Regions from separate parts of the Homo sapiens genome. Here all the other regions are linked to region 2. The links are contacts of gene promoters, found by promoter capture Hi-C in blood cells and fetal thymus (Javierre and others, 2016). All regions are on one chromosome and are shown on one strand. Each heading gives the region's core, a stretch centred on a gene start or on the middle of the fragment in contact. The rest is flanking DNA. Distances are from core to core; before and after follow the strand shown. Region 1 has its middle 11 kb from the start of PSMD6. Region 2 holds the start of THOC7-AS1 (THOC7 antisense RNA 1). Region 3 has its middle 16 kb from the start of PRICKLE2-AS1.

Region 1 (3,367 bases), core at 208-2,707, 170 kb before region 2:
TTCCTTTTGTCTATAGTTGCCAGAGTCTATTTCTGTGGCTTTCAACCACAAAAGAGCCCTAGTTAATATAATGCCTGTGGAATCAGACTCTGAAAACTAAGATGGAAGTAGTAAATGTGGTACATTGGTTCCCATTCTTTTGGAAAGGTGTGTGTGCTTGTTGTGTGTTGAGATTTTGAGCCACCCATTTTGATATCCATTTGTTTCAGTACCATTTATTGAAAAGTGACTCATCCTTCACGCGTTGCCTTTGCAACCTTGTCAAAAATCAGTTGTCTATATCTGTTTCATTTCTTTCTGGACTCTCTAGCCTGTTTTATTGAACACTTTGTCTTTACACCAATATTATGCTGTTTTGATTACTATAGTTTTATAATGATATTGTCATATTTGGGTGTGTGTGTGTGGATATGTGGGTGTGGGGGAGAAGAAAGTTGCAGTCATCAGGACATTTCTTCCTTAAATACTTAATATGCAAGTTTTAAAAATAAGGGCTTTGTCATACTTGTCACAGCAAAGAAAATTAGTAATCCCCAAATATCATTTAATATACAGTCCATATTCAAATATCTCTAATGTCTCCAAAACATCTATGGCTGTTTTTCTTAAAAATGTATGATAGATCTTTTATTAGTATCTCTAGCTTTGTCTTTGATGATTTAGAATTTTAAACTTTTTTCCTTGGGTCAATGTTCATAATTTATAATATTACTAGGAATTCATCCTTCCAAGTTTTGAAAACTATTATATAGAGTTGCTTATTATATTCTCTTAAACGATTTTAATCACTCCTATATCTATGGTTATTTCTCCTTTCACGTTTCTAATGTAACCTATTTTTGTTCACACTCATCGTCTTTATCTCTCTTGCTCACTCTTTCCTTAATCAGGATTTGAAGGGGCTTATCTGTAGATGTCACTGGTCTTTGCCAAGAAGCAGTATTTGAATTTATTTTTCCTCTCTGTAGATATGCTATTTTATTACCTTTGTATTTTATTTTTTTTTCATCCGTCTTCTTAGTGTCTTTGAGTTTACTATGTTGTTCTTTTTAGAAAACTATAGAAGTAAGTCTTTAGCACCTTTTTGGTGGTTCACTGGCAGTGAAGGCATTCAAGGCTATAAACTCTTCTCCAGGCTGGGTGTCATTGTGTCTGATGGACTTTGTATTTTGTGCACACCTTTTCACTGCTTTCTAGAAAGCTGGTGATTTTTCTTTTGATTTTCTCTTTAATCCAAAGATTATCAACAGCTGCCTTTTAGTTTCCAAATGGGTAAAATGTTTGGCCATTTTAAAATTGCTTATGTCTTATTTTGTTAGATTGTGTATTGGAAAATCATGTCTTATAACATCTCAATGCTTTTGAATTTTTAAGGTTTTAATTGTGGATTTATGTCACTTCTTATGATCACTTTTTATAGATATTCCTGGACATTTGAAATAATGGAGAAATATACTCCTATTCAATGGATGTAACATTCTATAGTACAAGTTACATTTAGTTTACTGATTGTATTTTTAAATCCTCTATGTTCTTGCCTACTTTTTTTTCTGCTGCATATGCTAAGGGAACTATATAGCAGCCCCTGATTACAATAGTAATTTTATCAAGTTATCCTTGGATTTGTAATAGTTTTGCTTGGGGCATTGGGCTTCTACAGTTTGGTGTGCAAATGTTTTGTCAGTTGCATTGTTTTAATAAATGTCAGTATTGTGGTTCCAAAATGGCCCTGTACATCCTGTTGAGTGATTTTACCTCTTCTGTTTATCTTCTTCCATCTTCAGATGCCTCTTCTGGTTCACCTGTGGTTGGTTTTCAGTCTTAATTATTTCCTCGGAAAGGGGTTTTGTGGTGCTATAGTTTCTATTTGCTTATCTTCAAATGTCTTTCAGCCTGATAGATGGAAGATATCTTAGCTGGGTATGGGATTCCTAGGTTGCTGATCCTTCTCTCTTTGATGTGACTCCATTGTGTTTAGCTGTCAGTGTTGCAACTGAGAAGTCTTAGGCCACTCTGATGAGTTTTTTGCTGTATGTATATGTCTTTTGTGGATGAGAGGAGTGGTTTGAAGGATGGGAAAACAATGTCAACCAGGTGTCACCACGCACAATTCCAGGAGGCACCATTCACATCAACTTTCATCATAAGAGTCATGGATGACTGCAGGTCAAATTCTTTCCAGCATCTGCCACTGTCTTGTCCTCATCCTAGGCTATCTGAAGCCTCATCTCCAGGTACTTCCCCAGCCTATAGGGAAAAAATACTTCCACCAGTTTTCTCCACCTGGGCTTCCAGAGAGCTAAAGGTCTCCTCTAAACCTCACTTCCCTTAGGCCTCAGTAGGAAGACTTCAGGAGATGCAGAGGCAGAACTGAGCATGGAGATAAAGAGGGTTGCTTTTGGGTAGCCATGGGCCCAGAATGTCCCTCATCCCTTAGAGCGTAATTCGTTAAGCAAGGCTTGCTTATAATTTTTCCTCTACAGATGTGAGCTCTTCAAATTGAGAGATCTCTCAGTGACAACAAAGTGGCTGTACAAAAACTATAACATCATTTTAAACAGATTAGGCACTAAATTAGTCTGGGCGCCATAGCTCACACCTGTAACCCCAGCATTTTGGGAGGCTGAGGTGGGTGGATCACTTGAGGTCAGGCGTTCTAGACCAACAAGGTGAAACTCTGTCTCTACTAAAAATGCAAAAATTAGCCAGGCATGGTGGCGGGCGCCTGTAATCCCTGCTACTCAGGAGGCTGAGGCAGGAGAATCGCTTGAACCCAGGAGGCAGAGATTGCAGTGAGCCAAGATTGCACCACAGCACTCCAGCCTGGGCCACAGAGCAAGACTCTGTCTCTAAATAAATAAATAAAAATAACGGGTTAGGCGTTAAATTATTTCTTCCTAAAATAAAGCTGAATGTGTTGGAATCATTGTTCTCTATTAATAAAAAAAGAGGAATATTAAAAATTTCAAGCAAAAATTTGGCTTGTTCATGGTCTAGGAAACCTACTAGGCAGCCTGCTTTTGAAAAGGAGAAGATAAGGCTCCACAACACATGGCGTGACAACCATTTATGACCTCTCCAGAGACAATATTCCACATGAGACCATCCGATTAGAAAGCAGAGTCCATGAAATAGACTTGTCTTGCTATTTCTGTGTGCTTTTAGGAAGCCTATGCTCACTGAGAAGAAAGAAAAGAATGTTCCTATAAACTTGTGATGGAAAAGCAATAAAAGCCACCAGAGACATTCTGAAATTTTTATTCTAATATTTCACTGACCAGAAGGAAGAAGCAGGAAGCCTTGCAAGGTTCAAGAAATAGTTGTCAGCAATAAGGAGAGACCACATTTTTCTGCCTCGTATAAAGCT
Region 2 (3,181 bases), core at 315-2,814:
CAAGTATTGCTAGAATTTAGAAAGTTATGAGCCAGAGATCTCTAAGGGCAATAGGAATCCATTAAAAGTTTTAACACTGGTGTGGTGTTAATCAGATTGGCATTAAAACACACACACATGCCGGGCACAGTGGCTCACGCCTGTAATCCCAACACTTTGGGAGGCCAAGGCAGGCGGACCTCTTGAGCTCAGAAGTTCAAGACCAGCCTGGAAAACATAGTGAGACCCCATGTCTACAAATACAAAAAAATTGGTCTGGCACAGTGGCACACACCTGTAGTCCCAGGACTTGGGAGTCTGAGGAGAAAGGATCACTTGAGCCTGGGAGGTTGAGGCTGCAGTGAGCCAAGATCGCGCCAGTGCACTCCAGTCTGGGTGACAGAGTGAGACCGTGTCTCATTAAAAAAAAAAAAAACACACACACACATACACACTGTCTCTGTTATGTGCAGAATGATTAGAGGAAGAGAAAATGAGGAGCTAAGTTTCCTCGCCACTTACTAACGTTTACGTAGTGCTGTTAGGTATTATTCTAATTGTTATCCCCATTTTACAGATGAAACAGACACAGGTTAGCTTGCCTAAGGTCGCACAGATAGTAGTTATAGAGGGTCAAAGGCAGGGAGACCACCTGCCGAGTTCCTGCTCTTCACTATTATGCGTCCTGTGTCTGCTACTTCTGCAGTGGCCCTGGTGAGAGACAATGAGGACTGTGACCAAGAGGGAATGCAAAGAGGACAGGTGGGAGGGAAATAGGGAAATTTGTGAGGTAGAATGTCAGGACTTCAGGTATTGAATGGATGGTGGGAGAAGGGATTTAGGATGATCCCAGGTTTTTGACTTCACTGTGTGCCTGTTAGTGCTACTTTTCTATTTATTGAGATTGAGATGTCCAAAGGAGCAACAGGCTTTGTCAGATGGGAGATAGGGACAGAAGATGAGTTCTAAAGTAATGACTGCAGTCAAGTGCCCCCCCACATCCTTAAAAGCCACAGGAATCTCTACCCTGCCACTTACAGACTGTCTCAGCTTCAGTCTCTGAACGGAGATAATAATAAAATCCACATCAGCGGATTGTTTTGAGGATTAAACACAAAAAGTTGTAAAGGGCTTTGCATTGAGTCCAACACATAATAATTAATATTCAGTAAATATTAATGTCAGAGTTGTTTTACTAATCTGTCTTCCACTTTCCTTTGATGTGGACTTTGCCTTCTCTCTTAATCTGCACAGGTTGCCTTTTCCTGCCTTTTCTATCAGGTGACACTCCACTTATTCCTCAAGACCCACCTCAAAAATCCCCTCTTTTCTTTCCTAGAAGTAGTTGACCTTCTGCCTACTAGCCATATTATTTTATGCATATTGCTGCTGTCACCCTTAATACGTTATTTATATGCCTTATGCTAGAAAACATTTAAGGCAGTTCACTGTAATGAGAAAATATAAAAATTAAACGGATTAGAAAACAAGACAAAAAGAACATTGAGATTAGGAAAAATAAAGGGAAGTCAGAAGTGGGGTGATCCTCAAAATGCAGGAGGATAAAGTCTAGTACATTAATTAACCAAGCTGTAAGTGACCTGTTTCTCCAGTAGGCCATTCTGAGAGGCAGGACCTCGTCTGCTCTGTGATCTAGTGTTCATGAGAGAAGGCAATCTTAGATGCCCAGGAAAAGCACTTTTTTTTTCTGATTTGAACTAGAGGAAAAGTTTATCATTGAGGTCTTTATAAATGAAAGCCAGTGTCATATCCTTAACCTCTTTTCAGCACTGAAGATCATAGAGCTGTTTTGTAGCACATCCCTTGCTAGGTAAAAGAAGGCTAAATCACAATTTAGAAAGACATTCTAAAGCCAGTAGAGGCTGGGTGTGGTAGCTCACACCTGTAATCAATCTTAGCACTTTGGGATGCTAAGGCAGGAGGATCACGTGAGCCCAGGAGTTTGCGACCATCCTAAGCAACACAGCAAGACATGATCTATACTACAGAATTTTTCAAATTAGCCAGGCGTGTGTGGTGGTGTGCACCTGTAGTCTCAGCTACTCATCTCTACTAAAAATTTTCTTAAATTAGCCAGGTGGAGTGGAACACACCTGTAGGTAGTCCCAGCTACTCAGGAGGCTGAGGCAGGAGGATCACTTGAGCCCAGGAGTTTGAGGTTGCAACGAGCCATGATTGCACCACTGCACTCCAGCCTGTCAACAGTGCTAGACCCTGTCTAAAAATAAATAAATAAAATCAATGGACAATGTGGTTTAGGTGGGTAGTGGGTAGCTCTGCTGATCTGGCTTGATTCAAATCAGGGTTTTTTGATTGAATATCTAGACCATAGAGGAAAGACAAACTACAACTTCTTCAGACAATCCTCTATAAACATGGTTTTTGTCAGCTGAGCTTTTGAAAAAATCAAGCTGAAATGAGTGGTATGTGTGATCCGTCAACAAGTATTTATTGCATACCTTCTAGGCACAATGCGAGGTCCTGGCTACTTTGCAGTGAACTAGACAGAGGAGGGCCCTGGCCCCTGCTTTGGGGAAAGAAGCCATAGTGTGCAATCAAATAAGTAAATAAGATAATTTCTGAAAAGGAATGTAATTAAGTTCTGAGAATGAACTTGATGGAATGAGGACAGAGAGTAATGGGGGAGGGCAGTGATACCTGACAGGTTCAACCACATGAAGAGCCCAGGAAAGTATTCCAGATAGAGACAACAACTAGTGCAAAGGCCCGAGGTGAAAACAAGCTCTGCACCCTTTAGAGGAAATAAGGAAAGCCACTGGGCTGGATCTAGGGACAGGACTGCATCCAGGTGGGCCAAGAGGAGTACGATGCAAAAGGAGGTAAAAGGGAGCTCAGGAGGAGCCTTGCAGGCTTTGGAAAGGAGACTGAATTGTCCTTTGTGGGCATTTAGAAATGATAGGAGGATTGTAAGCAGGAGAGTTAGTGATCCAATTCATCTTTTAGATCATTCTGAGTTGCATAAAAAATGGATTCTAGGAAGGCAAGAATGGAAACAGGGAGTCCAATGCAAAATATTCCAGATGAGAGAAATGTGGGCTTGGATTAGAGCGATGTTAGTGTGGAAGATAGAAGTGGATGCTCTTGATATCTCATTCATCCTCCTGGAAAGCTCTTGGAGGAGTACCAGTACCTGTCCATGGAGCTTACATAAGAGCCAATG
Region 3 (3,356 bases), core at 754-3,253, 190 kb before region 2:
CTCATCCCTGTCCTTGCTGCTGAAAAATGCTTCCCCGCAAGCTTCCTTTGGCTATTGTGAGAGGGAGCTTTCCCTCTAGTGCAGAAATAAACAATTCTGCCCTACCTTAAAGTTATTTGAAATTATATATTATTTGAAAAATAATAATAAAAACCAGGCTTCAAAATGCCAGCATCATCTATTTCCCAGGTTACTTATGTAAGCATGCATGAAAATGACACATCTGTGACCTACAGATTCAAAATTCCAAGGCAGAGGTCAGCTACCTGTGAGTGAGGTTTAAGAAATGCCTAATCAGTCTCTCCAAGGGAAAATCAATCTGGCCTTTATTATTCTTCTCAAGAGAATTGGAAGTAGCACTCATTACAGAAATCCACTTCCCTCCAACTCCAAGGGGATTTAGAATTTTCCAATTGTACTTAAGTATTATATCTCTGGCAACAGTTGTCCTAAGAGAGAGCTCTTTTCTTCTGTGTAATATTCAAGCAATCTTCAAAGGCTTTTATCTGCTAAAACTGATATGAAAATGGCATTTTATTTACCAATTCATCTCTAAGTATCAAATCATTACTTTTCTGTTTTATGTACATATCATCTATAAATGTTCTGAACATTTAAACAGTCAATAATTTTTCTATTCTGTGTTTCAGTTGAAATAGAACTTTACATCATAAAGAATTTACCAGTTTTAGAATGTTTTATAGTAAAGATACGTGCATTCACACAAACATATATGCATATATACCTATATGAATGTGTATATATGTGCACATATATGTGTGTAAGGCTACATATTATATGGTATAGAGATTGGGAGTTTGGGTTCTGGAGTCAAATTATTATGATGTGAATTCTCCCTTCTGTAAGACCTTTTGAAAGCTACTTAACCTCTCTTTCAGCTTCATCTATAAAATGGGAGCAATAATAGTAACCACTTCATAGAGTTGTGATGACTAAATGAATTAATACATATTAGGTGCTTCAAACAGAGCTTGGCAGGTAGCAAGTGGTCAGCTTAGCAAATATTAGCTATTTTATTAGAAACAGTCCAAGTAACCCATATTTTAAAAAACTGAGTTACCTGTGAACAAGAAACTTCTAAGTTATTGGTGTGTTTTATATGTGTTTTACACAGTTAGCAATGGTAATAGCATTATTGCTCCTGTTTGCTCTTCTTGAAGACAGTGAATTCTTGGTGGCACCCTGCTGTCACACTCTCAGCTTTTCTAACTCTCTGGGCAAGTTCCAGGTCCAAGGCTTTCTCCAGCAGAGTTAGTCATGCAGGTGGACTGTCCATCCTATGAAGGCCTCAACTTGTTGGAGAGCAAATTAAATCGATGCAGAGAAAGCTGTTGCAGGTGTGTTCTTTCTTGATATGGTTGGTGGTGGCGGTGTTTCACTCAATTTTGAGAATTTTTCTTCTTACTGTTGTTAGTATTGCTGGAGTGAAAGAATGTGCACCTTCTAGGATGAGTACACATATTCAAGCAGGAGGAAATAATAAGGGTGGCTCCTCCACATTGAGCTCTCCGTCTGGCCGGGGACTGCCTTCTGCTCTGTAGACCATCCCCACACCCACCCTCACCAGTGAGGACAGGCCCAGACTAGGCCTGACTTCAGTAGCCTGAAGTCCAGTTCACATGTCTACATTTGCGCATTCAGACGGCACCAAGAAAAGAACCACCTTTGGGATGCTCTTAAGCTCATTTTTAATAGACTTTATTTTTAGAATAGTTGTAGATTCACAGAAAAGTCAAACAGATAGTACAGAGGGTTCTAATATACCCAATGCCAAGTTTCCCTGATATTAATATCCTACATTAGTATGGTACATATGTTACCATCAATGAACCAATATTGATAAATTGTTGTTCACTAGAGTCCGTACTTTATTCTGATTACCTTAGTTTTTACCTGCTGTCCCTTTTCTGTTCCAGGATTCTATCCAGGCTACCAGGTTACAGTTAGTCATGTCTCCTTTGCTCCTTTTGGCTGGGATAGTTTCTCAGACTTTCCTTGTTTCTAATGACTTGGACAGTTTAGAAGAGTATTGGTTAGATGTTTTGTAGGATGCCCTACTATTAAAATGCTGTCTGGTGTTTTGTCATGATAAGACTGGTGTTTTGGGTTACTGGGGGGCGGGGCAGGGGGGAAGGCCACAGAGGTAAACTGTCATTTTCATCACATCTTATCAGGAGTATGTAACATCAACATGATTTATAGCTGTTGATGTAGACCTTGATCACCTGGATGAGGTGGTGTTGTCATGTTGCTCCACCGTAAAGTTACTTTCATTTTTTGTTCCTCCTTTTATGCCGTACTCCTTGGAAGGAAGTCACTATGCATAGCCCACATTTAAGGAGTAGGAATGTATGCTCCCCCTCCTTGAAGACGGAGTATCTACATAAATTATTTGGAATTTTGGAATTGCCACGGGAGATTCATGTAGTCATTTTTCAAGTGAGACTATATAAAAGGAAATTGACCAAAGAGAAAATTATGGTCAACAGATGTGTAGGGATGAAGAGAAAATCTTGAAAACAACAAAGGAGACAGTCTGAGAAGTAACATTTCTCATCTATTTTTGAGAATTACCTGTATAGTCAGACAAGTACTCAGAACTAATGTCCAAAAATATTTAGTGCTACATTACATTATGTAAAATACTTAAAAAAAGAAAGAAAGTAAAATATTCAAACAAGTCATGGGACATTCATGTAACTGTTAGGTCAAAAATGTATATATACATCATTTTCATCTGTGTGTGTGTGTGTGGGTGTGTATGTATGTATGGATGTATGTATAATTATTTTTAAGAGATGGGGTCTTGCTATGTTGCCCAGGCTGGACTCAAACTCCTGAGCTTAAGCAATCCTCCAGCCTCAGCCTCCCAAGAAACTGAGACTACAGAGACTACAGGCTCATGCTACTGAGCCCAGCTCTCTCTATATACAATTACTGGCATGGAAATACAGTAACGGTATGCTATGAATGAATTAAAGCAGGTTATATAGCCATATGCCTGGTTATGATTGTTTCATTATAAAACAAGTGTATTATATAAACACACACATGTGTGTGTATATACAACATTTATAATGTCTGACAGGTTAGTTAATACCAAAAAAAATACTTTTATTATGACCAGCTGGTAGGATTACATGTAATTTAGCATATTCCTTTTTAATATCTAAAATTTCTGTTTTCTTTAATAACTTTCTACTTATCTAATGAAACAAAAATTAAAAGAAAATAACCTAAAGCAAAAGATATACTGACAAATATAACACTAGCATGTTGTGTTAGTAATCCAGGTTGTTAGAAATCCACTATATGCCAGCTTTTTAAATGCCTCT

The links. Contacts are between HindIII fragments. The CHiCAGO score rates a contact against its expected background, and 5 or more counts as called.
Region 1: a contact is called between a fragment that was not itself captured here and the fragment with the promoter of THOC7-AS1 in region 2, in 11 of 17 cell types (total B cells, monocytes, activated CD4 T cells and 8 more). The highest score is 9.0, in total B cells.
Region 3: a contact is called between a fragment that was not itself captured here and the fragment with the promoter of THOC7-AS1 in region 2, in 1 of 17 cell types (neutrophils). The highest score is 5.0, in neutrophils.

What each region holds. Positions count from the first base shown.
Region 1 is chr3:64,033,046-64,036,412 of GRCh38, reverse strand. No RefSeq gene overlaps it. Among named protein-coding and RNA genes, the nearest start is that of PSMD6, 11 kb to the right of the region's middle. The HindIII fragment of the contact is 3,820 bases long and covers 1-3,367 here.
Region 2 is chr3:63,859,028-63,862,208 of GRCh38, reverse strand. THOC7-AS1 (THOC7 antisense RNA 1) reads right to left here and starts at 1,564. Exons shown (of 2, transcript NR_104326.1): 1 at 1,213-1,564; 2 at 390-710. The region is part of intron 1 of THOC7 (THO complex subunit 7); the gene reads left to right. The HindIII fragment of the contact is 14,056 bases long and covers 1-3,181 here.
Region 3 is chr3:64,050,303-64,053,658 of GRCh38, reverse strand. No RefSeq gene overlaps it. Among named protein-coding and RNA genes, the nearest start is that of PRICKLE2-AS1, 16 kb to the left of the region's middle. The HindIII fragment of the contact is 3,920 bases long and covers 44-3,356 here.